Regions from separate parts of the Homo sapiens genome. Here regions 2 and 3 are each linked to region 1. Evidence: promoter capture Hi-C in human tissues and cell types (Jung and others, 2019). All regions are on one chromosome and are shown on one strand. Each heading gives the region's core, a stretch centred on a gene start or on the middle of the fragment in contact. The rest is flanking DNA. Distances are from core to core; before and after follow the strand shown. Region 1 holds the start of INSL4 (insulin like 4). Region 2 has its middle 6.6 kb from the start of INSL6. Region 3 overlaps INSL6 (insulin like 6).

Evidence for each region. Contacts are between HindIII fragments. The study calls those that stand out against the background at their distance.
Region 2: a fragment that was not itself captured here is called in contact with the fragment with the promoter of INSL4 in region 1 in 2 of the 25 tissues and cell types used here (pancreas and psoas muscle).
Region 3: a contact is called between a fragment that was not itself captured here and the fragment with the promoter of INSL4 in region 1, in 1 of the 25 tissues and cell types used here (psoas muscle).

Annotation. Positions count from the first base shown.
Region 1 is chr9:5,230,148-5,234,718 of GRCh38, forward strand. It overlaps INSL4 (insulin like 4), which reads left to right and starts at 1,272. Exons shown (of 2, transcript NM_002195.2): 1 at 1,272-1,572; 2 at 3,507-4,571. The coding sequence starts at 1,377. The coding sequence ends at 3,730. RefSeq lists a promoter at 549-1,366. The HindIII fragment of the contact is 9,700 bases long and covers 1-4,571 here.
Region 2 is chr9:5,190,264-5,194,273 of GRCh38, forward strand. No RefSeq gene overlaps it. Among named protein-coding and RNA genes, the nearest start is that of INSL6, 6.6 kb to the left of the region's middle. The HindIII fragment of the contact is 5,042 bases long and covers 1-4,010 here.
Region 3 is chr9:5,166,102-5,170,351 of GRCh38, forward strand. The region is part of intron 1 of INSL6 (insulin like 6); the gene reads right to left. Among named protein-coding and RNA genes, the nearest start is that of INSL6, 17 kb to the right of the region's middle. The HindIII fragment of the contact is 3,819 bases long and covers 1-3,781 here.

The DNA.
Region 1 (4,571 bases), core at 22-2,521:
AACATATCTGTGTCACATTTTTACCTTGGAATCAATCAATACATAGTTGGGATGAGGTGAAACAACACCTCTGGGGAAACTTTCATGACAATTTAACAGCAGACGTAAAGCAACTTAAAACTAAAATTTTAGAATCCCTTCACATGATAGATCTACATACTCAACAAACAGCCATATGGAAAGGTGTGCAAGATCATTTCTCCTGGTTATACCCCCGATCCTGGGGGTCACACTTTGACTGGAAAGGAATGTTACTAATTATACTCATGATTGTCTTACGTTATTTGCTAATTCTATGATGCAAAGCCGGAATAAAAGCAAAACCTAACAAACCTGTTGCTGCACACATCTGTACTCTTAAGTCAACAGAACCCGATGCAAAGAACAGAAAGGGGGGAGATGTGAGAGTTCAGTCAGGCTGGTGGGAAAATTTTTTCAGATAGTTATAAGAAAAAGACGCAAACCTTTTTGAAACGCCGGAGGGGTTTGTATAAGCTCCAGTAATAGATCAGGCTGAAGGCAGCCTAATCCTTACCTTGAGTTAATAGCTTAAGGCACAGATACAAATGAATGTAGTTTATCTAGTTTGTTTACTCATGTGGTCCTAAGACTAATCTTTGATCAACCGCGGGTGCATAATTGCTCTCTACTCGGGAGGTTGGCAATGTCAATTACCTTCTAGTGGTGTTTACTCAAGACCTTCGTCATTTAATCTATGCTGAATAAATGTGAGCTTTGCTGGCTGATCGGGGCCACGGCTGCAACTCTTTACAGCACCCTCCTTGGTGTCTGTAGGTGGCCCGGACCCTCAGCTGGACTGACAGGCAAACTATCTGTGTCAGTGTATGTTATTCATCCGTCGTTGGGTCAGGGTCTGTGGGACAGACCCCCGCAATTAAAAGCTTATATGCCAAATGTTAACTAAGATAATTTCTAGCCAATGAGCTTACAGGTCAGTTCTATTTTTATTTCATCTAAGCAAAGGACATTAAAAATTACCATTATTTTAGTAAGCATAAAAATAGTATTACAGGAGGAAAGTTAAGAAAAAGAAGTAGAACAACCAAATTCAAAACAAGCAAAGTGCAGCAGCACATTGGGAGCAAAGAGGGATATGAGAGTGTGGGTAGGGCAAGTAGGGAGACTAAATAAGAACTGAGGGAGAAAGTTCCTTGTAGGTGGGTGGGAAAGGGGTGGAACTGACACCATTGACGCAAAAGCTGAGTAATAGCCCTAAGCAAATAAATGCCTGATGAAGGCATGCAGAAAGCAGTCTGGAGCCCAGAAGGGACACACCAGCACAGTCTGGTAGGCTACAGCAGCAAGTCTCTAAAGAAAGGCTGAGAACACCCAGAACAGGAGAGTTCAGGTCCAGGATGGCCAGCCTGTTCCGGTCCTATCTGCCAGCAATCTGGCTGCTGCTGAGCCAACTCCTTAGAGAAAGCCTAGCAGCAGAGCTGAGGGGATGTGGTCCCCGATTTGGAAAACACTTGCTGTCATATTGCCCCATGCCTGAGAAGACATTCACCACCACCCCAGGAGGGTGGCTGCTGGAATCTGGACGTCCCAAAGGTGAGAGCCCTGGACTACCAAACAATCAGAATGAGGCCTGAAAAAACAGGCTCCAGATCTCATTGACTGCCTGTAGTCAACTCAGACTCTACTGTGGCTAGTGCCTACAAGTTTGTGGTTTTTCATTGTAATGTGCTTTTATTAAAAGGGTCTCACCAGAAATCTCATGGGAAGTTGGGGGTAGAGGAGAAGCTGCAGGAAAAACAGAAGAACAGCCTCACCTTGGAGGCTCTTGGTGCCTTTCCCACCTGGCAGCCAGAGATACAGGGTGGAGAAAACAGGGAATCCTCAGAGAAGGTGACTATTCTCAAACACCAGCAGGAGGTGAGGTGTACTCCCAGACCCCCAGGAAAGCTGGGCAGGCCAGAAAACAGGTGTGATTGCAATGAGATGCCTGGGCCAGGCATCTTCAATTAAGAAGAAAGGGGACAAACAGTGAGGTGATGAGCTGATTATCATTTCTGTTTATGCACCTATTGGCCTAGGGGCAGCACACTGAGACCTCTGTTAGGTTCCTGGAATGTGAGATAAAGGGGGCTTAGATTTAATAACTCTCATCCTTTGTCATTAAGCTGGGCAGTGGTCTATGTCACCAAAAACGTCCTCTTACAAAAAAGTTTTTTTTAATGCACACCAACAGAGCACCTTGCCTCCCATTTCTTTGAATCTACTCTTGTAGTGTGTTGAGAGAGATGAGATGAAGAGAAAGAAAGTGGCCTGGATGACTAGAGGGGAAATTGAAGGGGACCAGAGACAAGGGAATTTCACTGTTCAGACCATCATAGCTGATTTGATTAGTGTTTTCAACATTTGAGACTGCAAAGCATTTTCTTTAAAAGCAAGATTTCAGAATTGAGGAAAGTTCAATACCAGGATAGTTTTCAAACTTTACCAAGTAACAAGGTATTCATAAAGATAAATTGCCAGCTAAGTTAAAACTAGCAGGGGCAGTTTCGAAAAGAGATAGAGGCTACTATATTCTGTCTAATAGGTCGTATTAAGTTCTGAAAAGCTAAGTTAAATTACTAAACATTGTTTTACATTTAATACAAATGACACAGGTTTTGAACCAGCAATGTGTGACTCCAGAACTGCTTCTTGTAACCCATATGCATACACTTCATTAAATCATTAAATGACTCTGTTTAAAGTTATCGTGCACAGTGAATGCACTTGGATTTTGTGTGATTTATATAACGATTTCAAAGTTATTTCCTTTTTTTACATTATTAGTCAGAGCTTGTTTCATTTTACTATAAAATAAGGGAAGAATACCACAAAGTCCAAACAATTTCTAATGCAAACTAAGGAAGAGCATGCTGTACTATAATTTCTATTTAAATTTCACTTTTTTTCAGTAAATAAGTGAAAATCCTCATTTAAATACTTTGACAAATATAGATAAATTTAACAAGAAAAATGGAAAGTATTCATGGATAACAAATGTTAACATTTGGTGTCGACACATATAGATGTATGTTGCTTCTCAGCCTTTTAGCTAAGATCCACTGATATAGATGTATAGATTTATGTGGATCAGATTTGAATATCTGAATCTTTCTATTAGAATAACTTGTGATTATAAAAAAAATTCCCTATTGCTATCCAGTACATAATGCATTGAGGTTATCAATCAAAACAGTGTCAGGGAGAGTCAAAAGTGGTATGGTATAGGCATTTAGAGGGTCATTAGAAGAGTGCATAGAGGGGACAGGATGAGGAGTTAGCATATCCTTAATATTGTAGTATCTTAAAGTGCCCTACTCTAAGTAAGCTAAGTTGTTGAAATGTTAGGATACTTGCTGATTCTCTCTGGTGTTTAATTACATGGAGGCAATGGGTACATTGTGGTCTAGGCAAATTGTATAATTTTTCTGATCCTCTTTCACATGAATGTTTTTCCTCACCTTTCATTCCTCTCTTTTACTTCACAGAAATGGTGTCAACCTCCAACAACAAAGATGGACAAGCCTTAGGTACGACATCAGAATTCATTCCTAATTTGTCACCAGAGCTGAAGAAACCACTGTCTGAAGGGCAGCCATCATTGAAGAAAATAATACTTTCCCGCAAAAAGAGAAGTGGACGTCACAGATTTGATCCATTCTGTTGTGAAGTAATTTGTGACGATGGAACTTCAGTTAAATTATGTACATAGTAGAGTAATCATGGACTGGACATCTCATCCATTCTCATATGTATTCTCAATGACAAATTCACTGATGCCCAATTAAATGATTGCTGTTTATTAGAACATGAGAATCATTATTAGTATTCACATGTTTCACTTGCTCTGTACTAATATAGTCTCTCCAAATGGAGGAAGTTAGATAGATGGAATAAGTTCTAGTAGTTGATAGTACAATGGGGAAATTATACTTAACAATAATTCACTGTATATTCCAAAATAGCTAGAAGAGAATTGTAATGATTCCAACACAAAAAAGATGAATGTTAGTTTGGATGCATATCCCAATTACCCTGATTTGATCATTACACATTATATACACGTATCAAAATATCACATGTACTACAAAAATGTGTATAACTGTAATATGTGAACTACAAACTTACTGGAAATAAATTTTTAAAGTTTTACACACATAAACACATACGTTCACACACACTCACTCAAGTCTCTTCATTTTTCCTCTTTTCACACTAGAAGAAATGTAAGAGATAAAGGATCTAACCATCTCTAACATCAGCTCATAGTACGGAGGAAAAGCAGTGAAGGAATGAACTGGTGGGAGAGGTATTAGGCATGTTCACCCTAGGGTAAACCCAGAGACCTCCCTAGAACTTTGCCCAATGCATATCCTCCACCTGCCTCTCAGCACGCTGCCTTTAGACCTTCAATCATTCTATAAACTCCTCTTTTGTCCCTGGCATTACTCCACATCCCCTCATCAAAGTGGTGAATTGGCACAAATACTGGCATTCCTCTGGCTACACATACCTCCTCCCTATGTGTCTCTAAATCCTAAATCAAAGAGTAC
Region 2 (4,010 bases), core at 645-3,144, 39 kb before region 1:
ATATACCACAGTTTGTGTAACTAACATGCATAAAGAACATTTTGTGTAGTTGCAGTGTTTGGCGATTACAAATCAGCCTATATAAACATTCATGTGCAGAATTTATGTAAATATTAATTTTAAATTTCTGGGAAAATGTTCAAGAATATAATCTCTGGTTTGTAAGATGGTTGCATGGTTACATGTTTAGTTTTTCTTAAAAAGTCACCAAAATATTTTCTGGGGTGGCTGTACCATTTTGTAGTCCCAGGAGAAAATTTTGCCTCTGTGTCTTCTCAGAAGAGTGGTTTATTTTTATTTCTGTGTATCAAGGGAGGGAAGAGAGGTAAATGAGCGTATTCTTCACCACCCTGACTGTCCTGTCTGGATTTCTCCAGGCTCTGTTATGCATTGAATTGTGTCCCCGAAGTGATCCACTGAAACCATAAATACCTGTATTTCAGAATGGGACCTTTATAGACCCTAGCGTGGCTGTAGATGTAGTTAGTTAGAATGAGGTCCCTCTGGAGCTGGGCCCTATATTCAGCAGGATGGATATCCTTACACAAAGATAATGTGAAGACAAAGGAACAGAGAGCACCATGTGTCAAGAGGGACAACATTGAAGAGCTGCAGCTACAACCAAGGAATGCCAAAAAGCAGCAGCAATCCATGTGAAGTTAGGAAGAAGAAAAGAGGATGCTCCCCAAAGGTTTCAGAACAACATTGGCACTGCCAACACCTGGATTTTAGCTTGCAGCATTCAGAACCATGAGAAAAAAAAATTCTTTTGTTTTAAACCAGTTTAGGTTCTTCGTTACATCCACCCTGGGAATCTCACAGTAGGGCCTTAGAGCTATTCTAGGAGTCTGTCCTTTTACTTCAATTGTCACACTGATTTATAAAGAATATTAAAACTAAGAATAAAGGGAAATTTATATCTTCCAAATGTCCTCCAGGAAGCAAAGCTTTGAACATTTCTTGGTTAAGAGATTTAAAATTATATATACTAGTAAAATTATGAAACTTCATCTATTATCATTTTTCCCTCACATCTGGACTAATGCCAGGGAGAAGGAAAGGCTGAAAAGGTTAGTGATCAGTGTGTGTGTTAGGATAATTTCTTGAGATGTTATCCTGGCTTGGCATGATACTGTATTATTCCGTCTCACATTTCCATTCCCCAGCCCAGTTCAAGCAGGCTGCCTGGGCCTTGGTTTTTGCCCGTCTAGCTTACTTTTGAAGGGCTATGCTAGAAAGGAGATGCCTAAAGCTGCACTTCCAATTGTTTATAAATGCCCAAAGACATATAAAAAGTTATACAAGTAACCCTGATAGGACTTGAGCCAGAGAGAGAGTGAAATACAGAGACAGACACAGAAAAAGAAACAGAAGGGAGATAATATGATTATTTCCTTAAATTACCCTGAGGTTGAAACTTCCCTATCCAAGGGAAGAGATATGATCCTTGTCAGCATTCTTTCTGTCCCCAGTGAGGGACACAAGTACAGAGGTGAGAGGACCATGTGGGATTGCACTGAGTGTTGCAGCGGTAGCCATTGAGGACAGTGCAGCCCAAGGATCTTAGTGCTTTGGCGCTAAGACCCTGGGTTCAGTGCACACCTTCATGGGTGTCCCCATTAGAACAATGTCTGATGTTGAATTCTCTACTAAGTAACAGAATTGGGATTGCTATTGATTTAGTAAAGAAGAAAGGTGGATATTTTCTGCACGTGAGAGACTGTGCCTTAAAATTGATACCTGTTGCGCAAAAACAGTCTTTGGGAATAAGAAAGGTAGGGGTCATGACACATCTGGGAAACTAGAGGGAAAAATGGAGAGAAAGATAGGCTAGTAGTAGGAGTATGTACTGGTGCAGACTGAGGCAACTACTTCAGTAGATAGTAGATAATAGTGACAGCCCTCAGTGTTATCAGTTAAGGACGAACTTGGAGAAAATGTGTTCTGGAATGGACAGTGAGCTGTGTACTGCAGATAAGTAAGTCTGAATGCAAGAGTTACAATGAGCAACAAAGGTTCCACCATGAAAGCACAACTCTTAAAACATGTTGGCTTTCTCCCCAAACAGTTACATTCTGTCGTTCTCTGCTCTCTCAATGAGAAGAAGCTCTCCAGGAGGGACTAAGAGAGGACATGATAAACCTTAGAGCCTTGGTTATGATTGACCATGTATGGAACTTTGGAATATAGGAACTTCTATGTTAGTCTCCTATAATTCTGTTTACAGACATTTGATTGAAGCAATTTACTTTTTCTAAAGTAAATTTTTTCTAAAGTGCATTTTCTCTGTAAAGGCTAGCTAATATGTATGGATACAGAGGTTGAAGAAACTGACTAAATTTAAAAATGATACCATGATGTTTTACCAACTCTAAGAAATGCTCATATTATTTCATGGTTTGTTTTACTTACGTAAATGTTCTGTAAATTCTAAAATGGTAGACTTGAATCCATTTCCTCGCTAGTTCTTTCTGAGACAAAAAATGAGTTATTTATTCAGTTATCTCTATGATTATATATTTATTTAAAAGCATAAAAAACCTTACTAGAGAAACAGTTGAGTTCATTTGGGCACAAAAATCTGAATATATTTATTGTCAGTTCAGCTTGCTTTCAAATAATATTTCACTAAGCCCCAAACCCTCCCACTTCCAATGAAGTAAAATATTGCAGTGTTTGTGGTTTTGTGTTCATGTAGTATACGTTGACAAAATTGATTAAATAAATGTATAACTGTTACATGTGGTTGGTGTCAGTTATGTATAAAAAGTTATTATGTTGGTTAAAGTAATAAAGCTTTTATAATCATTATATAGTCAATGAGATTCAAAAGCAATTGATTTACATATACTCTCAATAAAAAAGAGAAAGAGACTTTTTCAGCAGAAAAAAGATCAATTTCATAGAAGTACAATAGTGAAAAGACTATGGTGTTACAGAGCAAGTGAAACATGTAAGCATTAATAATGATTTCTCACATTCTAACAATCAGTGGTCACTGAATTGGACATCACTGAATGTTTCATGGAGAATACATAGGAGGTTAGGTGAGAAGTTCACAATTACTTTACTTTGTGCATACTTTCAGAAAAGTCCCTTTGTCACAACATTCTTCACAGCATAGTTTACTGGCATCATCAGCTTCACTTCTCTTTTGTCAGGAAAGTAGTACCTTTCTCAGTGACAGCTACCCCTCAGACAGAATTGCCTTCAGCTCCTGTGACAAATTAGGAATGAATCCCAACGTCATATCTAAGGTCCCTGCATCTTTATTAGTGGTGGATGACATCATCTCTGTGAAGTCAAAAAGGAGGGGTGAAAGGTGAGGAAAAACATTCATTTCAAAGAGGATTAGAAAAATTACAGAATTTTGCCTGGATCGCATTGTAACCATTGCCTCAATGTAATTAAACACCAAAGAGAATCAGCAAGTATCCTAACATCTAAACAACTTAGCTTACTTAGAGTTGGGCACCTTGAAGTACTACAGTATTATTAAGGATCTGCTAACTTCACTCTCCTGTCTGTGGACTCTTTCCGTGACAATCAAGATGCTTGCACCATGGCACTTTTGACTTTCTCTAACGCTATTTTGATTGATAACTTCCAACTGCGTTATGGACTAGATAACACTAAGGAAATTTCTTTCATAATCACAAATTTTCCAATAGAAAGACTCACATATTTAAGTCTCTATTCACATATAACTGTACGTCTATATCTACATCCACCCCAATGCCAGACATTTAACATTGATTTTCTATGTGTGCTTTCCATTTTTCTTGTTAAATTCATCTACAGTTTTCAAAGATTTTTAATGACCATTTTCACTAATTTATTCAGAAAAAGTGAAAATTAAACACAAATTATACTACAATCTACTCTTCCTTGGCTTGCATTAGTAATTTTCCTAAACTCAGTTTTATTTTTCCCTATTTTATAATAAAATAAACAAACTCTGACCAACAATGTAGGAAAAGTAAATAACTCTGAAATCATGCTGTGAATCC
Region 3 (4,250 bases), core at 622-3,121, 63 kb before region 1:
AAAGCTAGAAGGATTCTATGAGGTTTGTCATGACAAGCTAAAGTCATAAAGGAACATAAACACACGGAAAAGATTCACAGAGAGAGAGGAAGGCAGAAGATTTTTGTTTTTGTTTTTGTTTTGTTTTTTTAAGAGGTAATATGATTTCTTAGGCTTTACAAAGTCTTTCTAGGTCCACTTCTATACCTTGTTTGTTTTTATAATAACTACTATCCCCTTTTATCTTGAGGTTATTTAGGTGAATCTATATTCTTTGCAGTTAGAGGCCTATTAGAGCACTCTTTAATAACTTTTTATTTAATTAAAAAGTTGCTTGTTTAAAAGAATAAGATAGAACTCTATCCAGACTAATCAGGAACAAAAAAGATGGAAATGAACAAAATACAGCAGAAAAAAAGAAATAAGTAAATACAGCCAAGTTTTAAAATAAATATTATGAATGCTTACACATTTAAAAATAAAGATTAAATGGATGAATTCCTAGAAAAATACAAGATGCCTTAACTGGTACACAATGACACAGAAAACCTAAGTGTACCAACAATATTCAAAGAAATGAAAAGGGTAGTCAGAGTTATCACCTTCAAAAAAACACAGATATGGGTGGTTCCACTTATTTTTAAAAAACAGTAAATTCTAATAATATACAAGTTGTTCCAGAAAACGAGCAAAAGCTGCCCAGCTCATTTTATGAAGCTGGCATAATCTTTATTCCAAAACTAGGTAAGAACAATATGAGATTTTAAAATATTTAAAAACTCATTTGACTTTCAAATGTTGATTTCAAACTCCTAAATATTAGTTAACTGAATCCATAAACACGTTTTACAAATACATTAAGAAACGGTTCGGGGAAGCAGCCAAGATGGCTGAATAGAAACACCTTTGCTCTGCAGCTCCCACCGAAAAGGACAAAAATGGCAAGTGGATTCTGCATCTTCAATTGAGTTACCAATGTTCTCTCATTGGGACTGACTAGGAGGTTGGCGTGACTCAGAGAGAGCAAGGAAAAGCACAGTGGAGCTAGGGCCCACCTGGGAGCCAGCCACACAGGGCAAAGGGAGCTCCCTTCCCCAGCCAAGGGAGGCAGTGAGGGATTGTGCTACCCCTCCCTGAAAACCATGCTTTTACCATGAATCCTTGCAACCTGGGGATCAGGAGGTCCCCTCATGAGCCCATGCCACCAGGGCCTTGGGTTCCAAGCATTAAGCTATGCAGACTGATGGTGGCTGCTGAGGTGGGTGGCACTTGAGCAGGCACTGAGACCACGAGTTCCTGGGGGGAAGAGGCAGCTGCCATTACTGTGTCTTCAGTCCACCGTTTTCCCCTACCATGATGCCAGTGCAGTTTGGATGGGGAGCAATTCCCCCACAGCACAGCACAGCGGCTGGGACAGTTTGTGGCCAGACTGCTTCTTTAGGTGGGACTCCAATCCATTCCCCCTCACGGAGCAGGGCCTCCCTGTGGGAATTTTCACATCCCCAGTGGAGGGTTTATGGATAGAACTCTGATATCCCTGAGAAGAGGCTCTAGGAGGAGGGTTGGCCACGCTATCGTGGATCAGCCATTTTAGTCTTTCCTGCCTACTGGCTCTGGAGAGGGAGATTTCTGCCAGCACAACACACCTGCTCTACCAAGGGGCAGCCAGACTGCTTATTTAAGTGGGTCCCTGATCCTATTCCTCCAAACTGGGTGAGACCTCCCAACAGGAGTGTTCTGCTGGCATCAGGTTAGCACCCCTCTGGGACAAAGTTCTCAGAGGAAGGAGCAGCCTGCCATCTTTGCTGGTCTGCAGCCTCCACGGTGATACCTCCTGGGGTGGAAGAAACCAAGGTGAATAAAGTCTGGAATGGACTCCCAGCAAACTGCAGCAACCCTATGGAAGAGTGGCCCTACTGCTAAAATAAAAACAAACAGGGAGCAACAACAACAACATAAACAAGAAAGACTTCACAAAAACCCCATCCAAAGGTCATTGGCCTCAAAGATCAAAGGTTGATAAACCCATGAAGATGAGAAATAATCAGTGCAAAAACGTTGGGAACTCAAAAAGCAAGAGTGCCTCTTCTCCAAATGATCGTAACATGACTCCATGAAGGGCACAGAACCGGGCTGAGTCAGAGATAGATAAATTGACAGAAGTAAGCTTCAAAAGATGGATAATAACAAACATCCCTGAGCTAAAGGAGTATGTTCAAACTTGTTGCAAAGAAGCTAAGAACCATAATAAAACATTACAGGAGCTGTTAACAAGAATAACCAGTTTAGAGAGGAAGACAAGTAACCTGATGGAGCTGAAAAACACAACACGTGAACTTCACGATGCAAACACAAGTTTGAAGTTTGTAGCTGAATAGACCAAGTGGAAGAAAAAATATCAGAGCTTGAAGACTATCTTGCTGAAATAAGGCAGGCAGACAAGATTAGAGAAAAAAGAATGAAAAGGAATGAATAAAACCTCCGAGAACTATGGGATTATCTTACAAGACTGAACCTATGACTAATAGGGGCACCTGAACAAGACGGGGAGAACAGAAACAAGTTGGAAAACACACTACAGTATATCATCCAGGAGAATTTCCCCAAATTAGCAAGACAGGCCAAAATTCAAATTCAGGAAATCCAGAGAACCCCAATAAGATACTTCATGAGAAGATCAGCCCAATGACATATAATCATCAGTTCTCCAAGGTCAAAATGAAGGAATGTTAAGTGCAGCCAGAGAAAGGTCGAGTCACCTATAAAGGGAAGCCCATCACACTAACAGCAGGCCTCTCAGTGGAAACCCTACAAGCCAGAAGAGACGGGCGGCCAATATTTATTTGATTTTTTTTTTTTTTTGAGATGGAGTTTCACTCTTGTCACCCAGGCTGGAGTACAATGGCATCATCTCGGCTCACTGCAACCTCGGCCTCCAGGGTTCAAGTGGTTCTCCTTCCTCACCCTTCCCAAGTCCCTGGGATTAGAGGCATGCGCCACCATGCCCGGCTAATTTTGTATTTTTAGTAAAGACAGGGTTTTGCCATGTTGGCCAGGCTGATCTCAAACTCCTGACCTCAGGTGATCCACCTGCCTTGGCCTCCCAAAGTGCTGGGATTACAGGCATGAGCCACTGCACCCAGCAGATATTCTTAAATAATTTCTAACCTATAATACTGTATCTGGCCAAACTAAGCTTTATAAGCAAAGAAGAAATAAAGGATTTTCCAAACAAGCAAATTCTGAGGGAATTCATCACCACCAGACCTGCCTTGCAAGAGCTCCTGAAGGAAGCAGTAAATATGGAAAGGAAAAACCATTATCAGCCACTACAAAAACACACCAAAGTACACAGACCAGTGACACTATGAAGCAACTACATAAACAAGTCTGCAAAATAACCAGCCAGCATCATGATGACAGGATCAAATTCACACATAACAATATTAACCTTAAATGTAAATGGGCTAATCCCCAATTAAAAGACACAAAGGGCAAGCTGGATAAACAGTCATGATCCATTGGTGTGCTGAATTCAAGAGACTCATCTCACATGCAAAGACACACATAGACTCAAAATAAAGTATGGAGGAAAATTTACCAAGCAAATGGAAAACAGAAAACAGCAAGGGTTGCAATCCTAGTTTCTGACAAAACAGACTTTAAACCAACGAAGATAAAAAAGACAAGAGCGTTACATAATGGTAAACAGGTCAATTCAATAAGAAGAGCTTACTATCCTAAATATATATGCACCCAATACAGGAGCACCCAGATTCATAAAACAAGTTCTTAGAGACCTACGAAGAGACTTAAGACTCCCACACAATAATAGTGGGAGACTTTAACACTCCACTGTCAACATGAGACTGATTGTTGAGACAGAAAATTAACAAAGATATTTAGGACTTGAATTCAACTCTGGATCAAATGGACCTGATAGATATCTACAGAACTCTCCAACCCCAAACAACAGATATAGATTCTTCTTGGCACCACGTGGCACATCACATAATTGGAAGTAAAACACTCCTCAGCAAATGCAAAAGAACTGAAATCATAACAAACAGTCTCTAAGACCACAGCACAATCAAACTAGAACTCAAGATTAAGAAACTCACTCAAAACCACATAAGTACATGGAAATTCAACAACCTGTTCCTGAGTGACTCCTGGGTAAATGATAAAATTAAGGCAGAAATCAAGAAGTTCTTTGAAATCAATGAGAACAAAGAAACAACGTATCAGAATCTCTGGGACATAGCTAAAGC